Regions from separate parts of the Homo sapiens genome. Here all the other regions are linked to region 2. The links are contacts of gene promoters, found by promoter capture Hi-C in blood cells and fetal thymus (Javierre and others, 2016). All regions are on one chromosome and are shown on one strand. The core of a region is centred on a gene start or on the middle of the fragment in contact, and the rest is flanking DNA. Distances in the headings are between cores, read along the strand shown.

Region 1 (2,700 bases), core at 63-2,562, 240 kb before region 2:
GGTAACCATTGAACACTTGCACAAACTCAGTTGAAGAAGTTGTGGTCTTGTCAGTTTGAGCTGAGTTCAGGACTGAATCTTGAGGTCCTGAAAAACAACTTAGCCAGCACCTTGTGACCTATACTTCACAGTCAGATGTTACGTATAGTAGCATTGTAGAAACTATGGCCAGGCTATGTGACATTTTAATAGTAAGCAGTACAGTGTCACCAAACAGCTAAAGGTTATAATTAAAAAACTGAGTAGAGAAATTTCAGATACTGGCTACCTAATCATTCATAGCTATTTGGCCACTGTGTTCACTAGATATTCTTTCACCTCTCAATGAAGGTCTCACAATTCACAACATTAAAAGTGATTTTCTGGCCTGACCAAGTGGCTCATGCCTGTAATCCCAGCACTTTTAGAGGCTGATGTGTTGAGGCTTAGCTAGGCTCAGGAGTTCAAGACCAACCTGGCCAACATGGTGAAACCCTGTCTCTACAAAAATTAATACAAAAAACTAGCCAGGCATGGTGTTGCATGCCTATAGTCCCAGCTACTCAAGAGGCTGAGGTGGGAGGATTGCTTGAGCCTGGCAGGTTGAGACTGCAGGGAGCAGTGTTTGTGCGACTGCACTCCAGCCTGGGCGACAGAGCAAGACCCTGTCAAAAAAAAAAAAAAGGCAAAAGACCAGGCACAGCGAGTCACACCTGTAATCCCAGCACTTTGGGAGGCTGAGGCAGGCAGATCATGAGGTCAGGAGATCGAGACCATCCTGGCTAACACGGTGAAACCCCGTCTCTACTAAAAATACAAAAAATTAGCTGGGCGTGGTGACAGGCGCCTATAGTCCCAGCTACTCAGGAGGTTGAGGCAAGAGAATGGGGTGAACCCGGGAGGCGGAGCTTGCAGTGAGCCGAGATCTCGCCACTGCACTCCAGCCTGGGCAACAGAGCGAGACTCCATCTCAAAAAAAAAAAAAAGGTGGCTTTCCTCAGTGAAGTTCCCATGTAACATAGCATAACCCTCCAGGGACTTCCCCAGAAGTTTGTTAGAATTGAGAGCAGAGCTAAGTCTCTGGTTGTCTCCTGATAGCACCAGATAACCCTTTTCTGGGGTCACCTAGGGTCTTGCAATCATTTTGTACCCAGGGCTCAGCCTTTGATGTTTGTAGCCTTTGCTCGAGGCTACTGTTTGAGTGAGCCCAAGTGTTCCAGATGAAACGATACAGGGACAAGTTCACATAATAAGGCTGTTCCCCATCACCACCTCGGCTACCAATCAGCTGGAGCCCTGCAGCTCCCCCTACTATTCCTTTCTCCACTGCTGTAGATTTCCAGGGCTCTGAGAAAAGGAGGAGGACGCAGACTCTGCTCTTCAGATCCACATGCTGATCCCCACTACAATCAGTGACCTGAACTCAGAGTCCAAGTAGGGTAAGAAGGGCTCTGCTGAGGTTGCTCGGGGGACAGCCAGGAACACTGGAAGGAGGCTGATTGAACTTTTAGATAGCAAACAATGGAGAAGGATCCAAATCATGGAAAACAAAGGTCTGAATTCTGGTTAGCCTCAGTCCCACTGATACAGGCTTTTCCCTGCCCCTCCCTTCCTTCACCGCCAGTCCTCCTAAGCACAGTGCATTAAAGCTGCTTGCATCCTACTCTTCTATCTTGTGTAGGCCTTTATCACCAGGACAGGGTTCCACAGATGAGGAACCCTGTGCCTGATGTGGGCATTTGACATCTTTAGAAGTGCTCTCACATGCTTGCATCTCATTAGACTCTTGCAGGTCTGTAGGGAGCTGTGATTAGGCCTATCTGAGGACACCGATACTCAGAGCTATGAATCAGGCTAGAGGTTCAGTAGGGCCAGGAATACTCCTCATGGCAAATGAGGACAGATAGCTGGTAAAGAGATAACTTTTTCAAACGACCATACATCCTATGCTGTGACCACAGTAGCTCTGCGGGGGACTGTTTTAGTTTTGGTGCCTGATTGATTACAGCAACAGTTCTAAACTGATGTCCTTTTATGATGGCATTGTCAATAAGCTCTAACAAATGAAGATCATTTGTAATAGCAGTAATTAGGGAAATGGCCTCTGAGAAGGGATGCCGATAGTTAATAATGATCACATGTTTCACCCAGACTTTGGGGAAAGTGTTATAAGGAAGTCAAGGTTGGAAAAACATCATTTTTCAGAGAAGTGCAATTGCAGCCTGGGCTGTGGTTTCCAGAATCAATGCCTTCTGCCTAGGAACCACCTCCCAAGTAGTTACTCATCTTCTACATTCCCTTAAAATGCAACAATCTTTTCCACTTTGCAGACAATACGCTTAAAATGTCATTTTTCTATTGGACACATGATCTCCTGAGAGCTTATTTGGTAAAAGAGAGCTCGATAGTGATTGGCTCCTCAAATTGGGTAGAAGACAGGGTAGACAGGAGATATTTGAAATTCTCAAAAGGTACTTTATCTATATTTTCCAAATTTGTGTTAGCTCTCACAGGCTAAAGCATATTTTTAGTTCTTAGAAACTGTATTCTTTTTTTTTTTTTTTTTTGAGACGGAGTTTTGCTTTTGTCACCCAGGCCGGAGTGCAGAGGTGTGATGTCGGCTCACCGCAACCTCCGCCTCCCAGGTTCAAGCGATTCTCCTGCCTCAGCCTCTCGAGTAGCTGGGTCTACAGCCACCATGTCCAGCTACTTTTTGTATTT
Region 2 (2,843 bases), core at 176-2,675:
GAACGTGAGCATTCTCACTGGAGGGGTAGAGGTCACTGTGGTGACCCTTTTGAGCACCCAGGAAAGATTCCCAGGTAAAAGGAGGACTGAGGAAAAGCTGGAAAAGAGGCAAGTGTCAGCCTAGGATGTGTCAGTGGGCCATGCATTCATCTACAGGAAGGGCGGTTCCGCCTGGAAGAGGCAGAGCGGCCCTTCTCCCCCTGTCCACCCATGTCTCCTCACCCCACCTCACCCCGAGATGAGGAGCCCTGAGAGAGCTGGCAGGCTGCAGTCGGTGAGGTCTGCAGATTTGGGGAAGAAGTCGAATAAGGTAGAGAACCACAGAAGGAAAGTCCAATTAGGGCGCTGGGGCCTGAGATCATCAGGCCCTAGCCTGATGACTCAGGAGTCTAGCCCTCCAGATGAACTGGCTGGTTCCACACACAGGTCAAGTGGATGTGCTGGGAGAACATCCTAAACCTGTAACGGAAATTAGGGGGCCAGGAGCCCACAGAAATCACACACTGGGTGAGCTCAAGTGTTCGGAGACTGAGGTAGCAGTTGTCCACTGTCAGGTCCCGAAAGTAGATATCGCCTTGCATATGCCATTTATCCTTCTGATGCTCTAGTGAATGAAGGTGTTGATGAGCTTGCAGACTCTGGAGACCATTCCCCTATGCTATATTATCACGTCACAATAGTGGCTGGACCCACCTGAGATTCTGCACCTCAGGTAATCAGACGGCTACTGTCTAAGTCCTGGGCCTGGGGGAAACACTCTGACGTAGCAGCAGACACAGGAGGGTCCCCGTCAGAACCATGTTTTCTGTGAAGTGGGGATCAGTCCTTTTCCCTGAAGTACCTAGCACATAGGTGTTCTCAGTAAGTGTTATGTTAGCTTACTAAGAAGACTGGTCTCATTTGAAGAGAAATTAACAAATGTAAAAAAATAAATAAACCTATTAACTAGGTTTAATATTTATCAAACTATTAACTATTCAATAATCATTTAACTATTAATTTCTGTTTTCTTCAGTCGCTTAAATCTGATTTTTCTCTTCTTTCCGTTACTGCAGTCTCCCTTTTTCACACAGGGAAACAACCCAAGACTCAGAGTTCTCCGCGGAGGAATGCAAAGAACACAGGAAGTCAGTACTCCCAGAAACAGTCTTTGCTGGCGCGCTCACACCCAACCCCATCCCGCCCCCGTCCCGTCCCGCCCCGCCCCACCCCACCCTCTTGATTTCTGGGGCCGGTGACCAGGCCCAACGCAGCCTTCAAGTCGGCCCAAACACGGTTTCTGCCTCAAGGATTATTTATATAACCATTGCTTATTGGCTGCTGGCAAACACTCGCTCTTCTCGTTGGCTGAAACTGTCGGGAGAAGTTCTGCGAAGGCTGCTCCTTGCGGCGTTGGGACTGAGGGTCACAGGCACCTGTATTTCCGTTTCCGGTTCGCCTCCGGAGCCATGGCGGCGGCACTGAAGTGTCTACTGACATTAGGAAGATGGTGCCCCGGCCTTGGAGTGGCTCCCCAGGCCCGGGTGAGTGCCTACATTCCCTGCTGTCGGAGAGACTCTGGATCTGCAGAGACATCTCCGCGCAGAGGAGGAGCGCTCCTGGCAGCCCCCGCCCTAGCGATTGCCAGCAACTTTCCTTTCTGCCAGGAAATCAACCTACCTTTCTCTGCCTGCAGGCGCTCGCCGCCTTAGTACCCGGAGTGACCCAGGTAGATAACAAGTCCGGTTTCCTGCAGAAGAGGCCTCATCGCCAGCACCCTGGCATCCTAAAGCTGCCGCACGTGCGGCTGCCACAGGCACTGGCTAACGGTGCCCAGTTATTGCTACTTGGTGAGTAACGGCGGGAAAGCGAGAAGAAACGGGACTGGACCTACATGCAAGTGATTCCGCTTTTCGTCTTTGGCCCATAGGGAGCGCTGGGCCCACTATGGAGAATCAGGTGCAAACACTGACCAGTTATCTCTGGAGCAGACATTTGCCTGTAGAGCCAGAGGAGTTGCAAAGACGGGCTAGGCATCTTGAGAAAAAATTCCTGGAAAACCCAGGTAGGACTTAAGAATAATTAAAAAGTGGGCGAGATTGAAATATCGGTTAGAAATGAAGAGTAAGAAATAATTCTACAATCTCTCAGATACTGAAGTCTCTTATTTGACTTTCTAACCAGAGCAGCAGTTGTTACAATGATGCCTTACTAAAAGAAGGTAGATTATTTTAGAGATTGCTTAGGTAAAGGTCAGAATGTCCCAGTATACTGTTTTTTGTTTGTTTGTTTGTTTTGTTGTTTTGTTTTTGCTTTGAGACAGAGTCTTGCTCTGTCACCCAGGCTGAAGTGTAATGCTCGATCTCGGCTCACTGCAACCTCCGCCTCCCGGGTTTAAGTGATTTTCCTGCCTCAGCCTCTTCAGTAGCTGGGATTACAGGCGTGCACCACCACACCCGGCTACTTGTATTTTTAGTAGAGACGGGGTTTCATCATGGTGGCCAGGCTAGTCTCGAACTTCTGACCTCAGGTGATCCGCCCACCTTGGCCTCCCAAAGTGCTAGGATTACAGGCATGAACCACCGCGCCTGGCTACCAATATACTGTTAAAATCTAGATATTTATTTTTTTCTGCAAGTCCACTGGATTAGGACCTTCTAAGTTTTTATTCAGGTAAAATAAAGTCCCTGGATGGTCCCTGCCCAGTACTGAAACCCTCTTCTGGGATAAGAGGGTAAATATAATTCATCAAGTTAGTTTCATGATTGTGAGCTCCTTGACACTACCATTTATTCATCTTGCATTCCCTGCACACCTCACAGTACCTGGCTCACAGTAGTTCAGTAGATACTTGCTAAATAGTA
Region 3 (2,700 bases), core at 8-2,507, 170 kb before region 2:
AGGCTACGGAGTCACAGAAGATTAACTGACTAGAAACAAAGAAAATACTATACAAAAAATATTAGACATGGTGCAGAATCAAAAGGTGGTTGTGGAAGAAATGGAATGTGTTTTTCATGAAGGAGGAATGTAACTACCCAGTGGTTTCACCTTGCCCACAGCCTAGACAGAGCCAGTTTATCAAGACAGGGGAATTGCAATGGAGGAAGAGTAATTCACACAGAGCCGGCTGTGTGGGAGACCGGAGTTTTATTATTACTCAAATCAGTCTCCCCAAGCATTCAGGGAAGCAGAGTTTTTACTGACAACTTGGTGGGTGGGGGGAAGCCAGTGAGCCAGGAGTGCTGACTGGTCAGTTAGGAAACAAGACCATAGGGAACTGAAGCTGTCCTCTTGCACTGAGTCAGTTCCTGGGTGGGGGACACAAGATCAGATGAGCCAGTTTATCAATCTGGGTGGTGCCAGCTGATCCATCAAGTGCAGGGTCAGCAAAATATCTCAAGCACTGATCTTAGGAGGAGTTTAGGGAGGGTCAGAATCTTGTAGCCTCCAGCTGCATGACTCCTAAACCATAATTTCTAATATTGTGGCTAATGTTAGTCCTACAAAGTGAATCTAGTCCCCAGGCAAGAAGGAGGTCTGCTTTAGGAAAGGGTTGTTATTGTCTTTGTTTTAAACTACAAACCATAAAGCAAGTTTCTCCCAAAGTTAGTTCAGCCTACCCCGGGAATGAACAAGGACAGCTTAAAGCTTAAAAGCAAGATAGAGTTAGTTAGGTTAGATCTGTTTCACTGTCTCGGTCATAATTTTGCAAAGGTGGTTTCAGAAAGGTGTCATGATGTGTACAATATCATCTGAAAAAGAATAAATGAGAAGCCTAGCTCTCCAATAAAAAGGCAACAATTAATGACTGCTACTGTAGAAAGGTGAATTTTCAAAAACAGAGAAGTGGTGTAATAAATATAGCTCAGGTAATATAAAAGGTCAGGGAAAAAAAGTGTGTTTTTTCCCCAGCTCTGCTACTTATAACTTGATGAGACTTTTCGATAAATCTTTTTGGAAGCTCTTAAAAACTACCAATGCCAGCCAGGTACAGTGGCTTACGTGTGTAATCCCGGCACTTTGGGAGGCCAAGGCGGGCAGAACACTTGAGGTCAGGAGTTTGAGACCAGCCTGGCCAACATGGTGAAACCCCTAGTTATAAATAAAGTTTTGGTGCCACAAAAGAAATAGCACTCGAATATAAAATGTTCTTTTTAATTCTCAGCAAGGCAATGTACTTCTATAGAAGGGTGCACCCTTACAGATGGAGCAATGGTGAGCACACACTTGGACAAGGGAGGGAAAGGGGTTCTTATCCCTGACGCATGTGGCCCCTGCTGCTGTGTCGTTCCTCTATTGGCTAGGGTTAGAACGCACAGGCTAAACTAATTCCGACTGGCTAATTTAAAGAGAGTGACAGGGTGAGTGGTTTGGTGGGGAAAATGGTTATGGCAGAGGAAGTAATCGGAATGAGTCAGGGTGGAGCAGGTAATTGGAATGAGTCAGGGTGGAGCAGGTAATCGAAAAAGGTTGCTTTACGAGGAAGTTAAAAGTAGAAGGCAAAGAATTGAACATACGAACATACTGACATACTGATTCTTTGAAGAGAAATTTAGAACTCATATCTAACAACCCCTCCTCTTATATTTCCTTACAGTTTTTTCTCTTCAAAATTCTTTAACATGTCTCGGCTTAGTTGTTTTGCTTGATTTTCCAAAGGAAGAAGCTTCTCTGGATAAGGTGGAGGATAGTTAAGGGAGGTTTTAGTGAGTGCCATTTTTATGAGCCTCTGCACCAACCCATGGATGCATGGTGTGACACAGCACCCGACAAGAATAAGTACACCCATTACGGCTGTGAGGGAAGTAAGAATTGAGGCTATTATCCTTTTCCATTTACTGAACCACTTTTCTAGCCCTCCTATAAAGGGGTCATTTACCCCTGAGTTGTTGGCTAACTCATTGGACACAGCAGTCAGACCTTGCAATGCCTTTGTTGTACTTCCATCAGGGGCGGTGTTGTTTGGGATGAAGGTACAACATTGAGTTTTAATCATGATGCAAATTCCTCTTCATTCTGCTAATATGTCTAAGGCTATCCTATTTTCCCAAGCCATCTGGCTAGTAGCCTCTAATTGCTCAGCTATTCCTTTAACAGCAACTCTAGTGTAGTTAATAAATTGCTGTTGGTTGTAGTAGATGTAGTTTATCCAATCTACATTTTTATTAATTGTCCCCCACCAAAATATTGACTCAAATCCTGCAGCTCTTTGATTTCAGGTTTTAAATTGATCTGGTATTCCCCATGGGATTCCAATTGCATTTAAATAGATGTGAGTCGAAAGACCCGTAAGTGGCTTCTCTTGCTTTACAATGTCTTATTTTTCCTTCCTCCGATTGATGAAATGCCAGGGTGAAAAGGATAGCCAATTGTACTAAAGCACAAGTGCCACTCCAGTTATTTGGCAGAGCTTCCGGTAAAGGTCCACAATACCACCACACATCCGCTAAGGGATGAACAAAGGCTGACTGATTTGTAAGCTCTTGGAAAGTCTTAAACTCACTGCATCCCTTCAGGTCTCCAAGGAACGCTAAGTTTCCTCCCTGTCATGAGAGACACTAAGTGAACTTAGTGTTGGGAGATGAAACACTCCCAACA
Region 4 (2,700 bases), core at 181-2,680, 200 kb before region 2:
GCTGGAATTCAGTAGGAAGGACGACACCTGGCAGGCTGAGAATTTTGAACTGGGGCCTCAGGAAAGTAATGATTTTTTTTTTTTTTTTTTTTTTTTTTTTTTTTTTTGAGACGGAGTCTCGCTCTGTCGCCCAGGCTGGAGTGCAGTGGCGCGATCTGGGCTCACTGCAAGCTCCGCCTCCCGGGTTCCCGCCATTCTCCTGCCTCAGCCTCCCCAGTAGCTGGGACTACAGGCGCCCGCCACCACGCCCGGCTAATTTTTTGTATTTTTAGTAGGGACCGGGTTTCACCATGTTGGCCAGGATCGTCTCGATCTCCTGACCTCGTGATCCGCCCGCCTCGACCTTCCAAAGTGCTGGGATTCCAGGAGTGAGCCACCGCGCCCGACCGTAATGAATTCTTAATATTCCTTTCTGTGCCCTGTTTCAGTCTTTTTCTGCAATGTACTCATTTCCTCTGCTTTTCTTTTTCACACAGTAAGTAGACAGTCATCCCTTTCCATCTCACTTTCTAATTTTCTCTGAAATATTATTTATTTTTGAAGGGATTCTGACTGATCCCATCCATAGATCAGACATGACCATCGGACAGAATCACATTGCAAAAAATAGCTTCCAGGAGCCTTTCTTGTGGACCATGCAGAAGAGAGGCTTAGAGAGAACTGCCCTTAAGGCTGGCCAAATGGGGTCTCTGGCCTCGCCTGTTCCTCAGGCACCCCGTTGCATCTTGGAATACCCTTCTCAACATTTTCTAAGTCTCTCATCAGTGGCTGCAGTCAGCCCAGGCTGGTAGTGCCTGGCCTGAGATCCGCATGGGATCCTATTCTCTTTCTCTCCTTTGGGGCTTTCTCCCACCCTCAACCCTTCCTTCCAGCACAGGAAGCCCTAAGGAGCTTCAGGACTCATGTCTGTAGTGTTGTCTTGGGGCCAGGACTGGTTCCAGGTGAGTTAGCCCTGGTTAGAGATGTCATAGTTCCCAGAGAAAAGGGGCTAGATAGACAATTCAATACTTTTTCTTTAACCACACAGTGTGGAAACAGAAATTGAATAACAATGTACTCTTGAGGAATAGAGGAAAGTTTATTTTAAGACAGGAGGATGTGGGACCAGTAAAAACATTAAACCACTTTTACAGCTGTACTTAGTGAGTTAGGTGGATATTTTAATTAATTTCGTCTGAAAAGAAATTATACAATCTAAAACTGATTTTATTGATTCTTTTGATACTGTGAATATTTCTTCAAGTCATCTTTTTAATTTGTAAAGTTATTTTTGAAAATGCCATTTTATCTAGACAGTGCTAATAAAAACAAGAAAGTGTTTGTCCACATTTGAGTCAAGATTGCAAAAAACCCCACAAAAACCCAGGTGTAGGGGTGGCAATAGCAGAGCCAAAGAGCTTCGCAAGGAGGAGAAGCAGAAGCTCGTGGGGATGGGAAGTCTTTGGGGGCTCTTCATACTTGATGGATTTCGTCAAGTTTTTCCCTTGCTCTCTCTCATGAGTTCACTTCATTTTTAATGGGATTATTTACTTTTCAAAAATTAAACAATCCAGATAAATACAATATACTAGTGGCATGCAAAAGAAATAAATATTAAGTGTTTCATTTGCTTAAAATTTTAAAATAAATAAAATATAAAAACATTGGGGTCCATTTTATTCCTTTCTGGTAATTCTTCTTAACTCTTCTCAGCCGGGCGCGGTGGCTCACGCCTGTAATCCCAGCACTTTGGGAGGCCGAGGCGGGTAGATCATGAGGTCAGGAGATCGAGACCATCCTGGCTAACACGGTGAAACCCCGTCTCTACTAAAAATACAAAAAATAAGCCAGGTGTGATGGCGGGCGCCTGTATTCCCAGCTACTCGGGAGGCTGAGGCAGGAGAATGGCGTGAACCCGGGAGGCGGAGCTTGCAGTGAGCCGAGATCGCGCCACTGCACTCCAGCCTGGGCGACAGAACGAGACTCCGTCGCAAAAAAAAAAAAACAATAAAACAAAAAAAAACTCTTCTCAGATGAAATCATACATTTGGGGTATATTCAGTCCTTTTTTTGTACTCTTTAAGTATAATACATTCATAAGCAAAATATAGTGTTTCAGTGTGCAATTTTAATACATTTGTATAAATACTATCATAAGGTACGTATCATTCTGCAACTAGTTTTTTTCACCCAACAGTGTTTCCAAGACTCATCAATATTAAAATGTGTATTTGTTGTTCCTTTATTTTTATTGATTCATTATTTTCCCCTCTGTATTAGTATACCACCATTTATTTATCTGTCTTCTGGTGGATATTTAGGATGTTTCCAAATTTTCACTCTAACAAGCAATGTTGCAATGAGTATCTTTGTACATTTCTCCGTGTGCACATGTGGTAAATTTTCACTAATATATGCCCAGATGTGGAATTGCTAAGCCATATTCATGTCCAATTTTACCAAATATTGCCATATTTTCTTCAAACTAGTTGTGGCCAATTGTATTTTCCAAAATGTCCACACAGCCAGGCACAGTGGCTCACACCTGTAATTCCAGCACTTTGGGAGGCTGAGGTGGGCGGATCACTTGAGGTCAGGAGTTTGAGACCATGGCTAACATGGTGAAACCCCATCTCTACTAAAAATACAAAAATTTACCGGGCATGTTGGCACACACCTGTAGTCCCTGCTACTTGGGAGGCTGAGGCAGGAGAATCACTT
Region 5 (2,700 bases), core at 85-2,584, 220 kb before region 2:
CCACATTTTGAAATTGCCCTGCAAAGCTGTTCTTTGTGGGGGAAAATTTGCATCTGTAAAGAATCTCTATTAACATAGCTAAATATTTTTCTTCCAGACCTTCCAATCCTAAAGATATTAATTAAGATCTGAAAGGGAAACATTTGTCATCTATTGTCTCTAAGGGCAGCCACTATAAGACTTCGAAAGAATTGGTCTCTACCATCTTTATTTTAACCTGAATATTCCCTTTCTATCAATCTCAGGTCTTTAGACAAAACTAGTTGTCAACCAGAAAATGTTTAAATACACCTATGGCCTGGAGGCCCTCCACTCCCCATCAGCTTTGAGTTGTCCCGCCTTGCTGGACCAAACCAATGTATTTCTTAAATGTATTTGATTGATGTTTCATGCCTCTCTAAAATGTATAAAACCAGCTGTGCTCCAACCACCTTGGGCACATGTCCTCAGGACCTCCTGAGAGCTGTGTCATAGGCCATGGTCACTCATATTTGGCTCAGAATAAATCTCTTCAAATATTTTACAGAGTTTGACTCTTTTTTTTTTCTTTTCTTTTGTTTTGAAATGGTGTTTTGCTCCTGTTGCCCAGGCTGGAGTGCAATGGCGTGATCTCGGCTCACTGCAACCTCTGCCTCCCAGGTTCAAGCGATTCACCTGCCTCGGCCTCCCAAGTAGCTGGGATTACAGGTGCCCACCACCACGCCCAGCTAATTTTTGTATTTTTAGTAGAGATGGGGTTTCACCACCTCGGCCAGGTAGGTCTTGAACTCCTGACCTCAGGTGATCCTCCCGCCTTGGCCTCCCAAAGTGCTGGGATTACAGGCGTGAGCCACCACACCCAGCTGACTCGTTTCATCGACAATAACAAACTGCCTAGTAAAACTTCAGATACTGGCTACCTAATCATAACTATCTGGCCACCAGTTTCACTAGATACTCTTTCACCTCTCAACGAAAGTCCCACAGTTCACAATGTTATAAGTGGCTTTCTTCAGAGAAGTTTCTGTGTAACATAGCATAACCCTCCAGGGACTTCCCAGAACTTTGTCAGAAATTGAGTGCAGAAGCCAGGTCTCTCGTTGTCTACTGATAGCACCAGATAACCCCTTTCTGGGGTCACCTCACTCTAGGGTCTTGCACTTCTTCTGTGCCCTGGAGTCAGCCTTTGATGTTTGTAGCCTTTGCTTGAGGCCACTGTCTGAATAAACTCAAGTGTTCCAGATGAGAAGATACAGGAACAAGTTCACATAATAAGGCTATTCCCCATCACCACCTCCACTACCAATCAGCTGGAGCCTTGCAGCTCCCCCTGCTATTCCTTTCTCCACTGCTGCAGATTTCCAGGGCCCTGAGGAAAGGAGGACTCAGACTCTGCTCTTCAGATCCACACACTGATCCCAACTACAACCAGTGACCTGAACTTGGAGTCTGAGTAGGGTAAGAAGGGCTCTGCTGAGGATGTTTGGGGGACAGCCAGGAGCACTGAAAGGAGGCTGATTGAACTTTTAGATAGCAAACAATGGAGAAGGATCCAAATCATGGAAAACAAAGGTGTGAATTCTGGTCAGCCTCAGTCCCACTGATACAGGCTTTCCCTGCCCCTCCCTTCCTTCACCCCCAGTCTTCTCAAACACAATGCATTAAAACCGCTTACATCCTGCTCTTCTATCCTCTGTAGGTCTTTATCATCAGGACAGGGTTCCACAGATAGGAAGTACCGACCCTTTGTTCTGTGTCTGATGTGGACATTTGACATCATTAGAAGTGCTCTCAAATACATGCGTCTCATTAGACACTTGCAGGTCTGTAGGGAGCTATTATTAAGTCCATCTGAGGACACCAATGCTCAGAGTTGTGAATCAGGTTAGAGATTCAGTAAGGGCGGGAACACTTCTCATGGTAAATGAGGACAGAGCACTAGTTTAAACGGTAGACTCTTTCAAAAAGATCCCCACACTCCATGCTATCACCACAGAAGCCACTGTGGGGGCTCTTTTAGTCTTGGTGCTTGATTGATTACAGGAATATTTCAAATCTGGAATTCTGGTTGGGTGTAGTGGCTCATGCCTGAGAATCCCAGCACTTTGGGAAACCGAGGTGGGTAGATTACTTGAGGCCAGGATTTTGATACTAGCCTGGCCAACATGGCGAAACATTGTCTCTACTAAAAAAAATACAAAAATTAGCTGTGTGTGGTGGCAGGCACCTATAATCTCAGCTACGTGGGAGGCTGAGACAGAGAATCTATTGAACCCTGGAGGTGAAGGTTGCAGTGAGCCAAGACTGTGCCACTGCACTCCAGCCTGGGTGACACAGTGAGACTCTGTCTCAAAAATAAATAAACAAATAAAAACCTCAAAACTGGAGTTATTTTATGATGACATTTTCAAGGAGCAGCTCTGACAAACCAAGATCATTTGTAATAGTGATAATTAGGGGAATGACCCCTGAGAAGGAATATGGGTAGTTAGTAATGAACATACGTTCCACTCAGGCTTTGGAGAAAGTGTTATAAGGAAGTCAAGATTGGAGAAGCATCATTAAGTAATTGGAGAAGCAGGCAAGAAGTAATTGCAGGCTAGGCTGTCATTTTAGCGAATCGAAGCCTTCCTACCTAGGAACCACTTCCCAAGTAGTTACTCATTTTCTACATTTCCCTAAAATCTGACAACCCTTTCCACTTCAAGGACATAAACCTTA

Evidence for each region. Contacts are between HindIII fragments. The CHiCAGO score rates a contact against its expected background, and 5 or more counts as called.
Region 1: a contact is called between the fragment with the promoter of EDDM3A here and the fragment with the promoter of METTL17 in region 2, in 2 of 17 cell types (M2 macrophages and monocytes). The highest score is 9.8, in M2 macrophages.
Region 3: a contact is called between a fragment that was not itself captured here and the fragment with the promoter of METTL17 in region 2, in 2 of 17 cell types (M0 macrophages and monocytes). The highest score is 7.0, in M0 macrophages.
Region 4: a contact is called between a fragment that was not itself captured here and the fragment with the promoter of METTL17 in region 2, in 2 of 17 cell types (M1 macrophages and monocytes). The highest score is 6.9, in M1 macrophages.
Region 5: a contact is called between the fragment with the promoter of EDDM3B here and the fragment with the promoter of METTL17 in region 2, in 6 of 17 cell types (monocytes, M2 macrophages, neutrophils and 3 more). The highest score is 8.0, in monocytes.

The regions. Positions count from the first base shown.
Region 1 is chr14:20,744,575-20,747,274 of GRCh38, forward strand. EDDM3A (epididymal protein 3A) reads left to right here and starts at 1,313. Exons shown (of 2, transcript NM_006683.5): 1 at 1,313-1,418. The region is part of intron 2 of LOC107984671 (a long non-coding RNA gene); the gene reads right to left. The HindIII fragment of the contact is 4,056 bases long and covers 1-2,700 here.
Region 2 is chr14:20,988,555-20,991,397 of GRCh38, forward strand. It overlaps METTL17 (methyltransferase like 17), which reads left to right and starts at 1,426. Exons shown (of 14, transcript NM_022734.3): 1 at 1,426-1,523; 2 at 1,676-1,829; 3 at 1,910-2,044. The coding sequence starts at 1,449. RefSeq lists a silencer at 1,073-1,202 and an enhancer at 1,953-2,002. The HindIII fragment of the contact is 15,587 bases long and covers 1-2,843 here.
Region 3 is chr14:20,821,520-20,824,219 of GRCh38, forward strand. No RefSeq gene overlaps it. Among named protein-coding and RNA genes, the nearest start is that of RNASE1, 20 kb to the left of the region's middle. RefSeq lists an enhancer at 211-505. The HindIII fragment of the contact is 1,018 bases long and covers 749-1,766 here.
Region 4 is chr14:20,785,881-20,788,580 of GRCh38, forward strand. All of the region lies in intron 1 of LOC107984671 (a long non-coding RNA gene), which reads right to left. Among named protein-coding and RNA genes, the nearest start is that of RNASE6, 6.0 kb to the left of the region's middle. The HindIII fragment of the contact is 4,946 bases long and covers 1-2,700 here.
Region 5 is chr14:20,767,070-20,769,769 of GRCh38, forward strand. EDDM3B (epididymal protein 3B) reads left to right here and starts at 1,335. Exons shown (of 2, transcript NM_022360.5): 1 at 1,335-1,437. The region is part of intron 1 of LOC107984671 (a long non-coding RNA gene); the gene reads right to left. RefSeq lists an enhancer at 1,043-1,322. The HindIII fragment of the contact is 10,803 bases long and covers 1-2,700 here.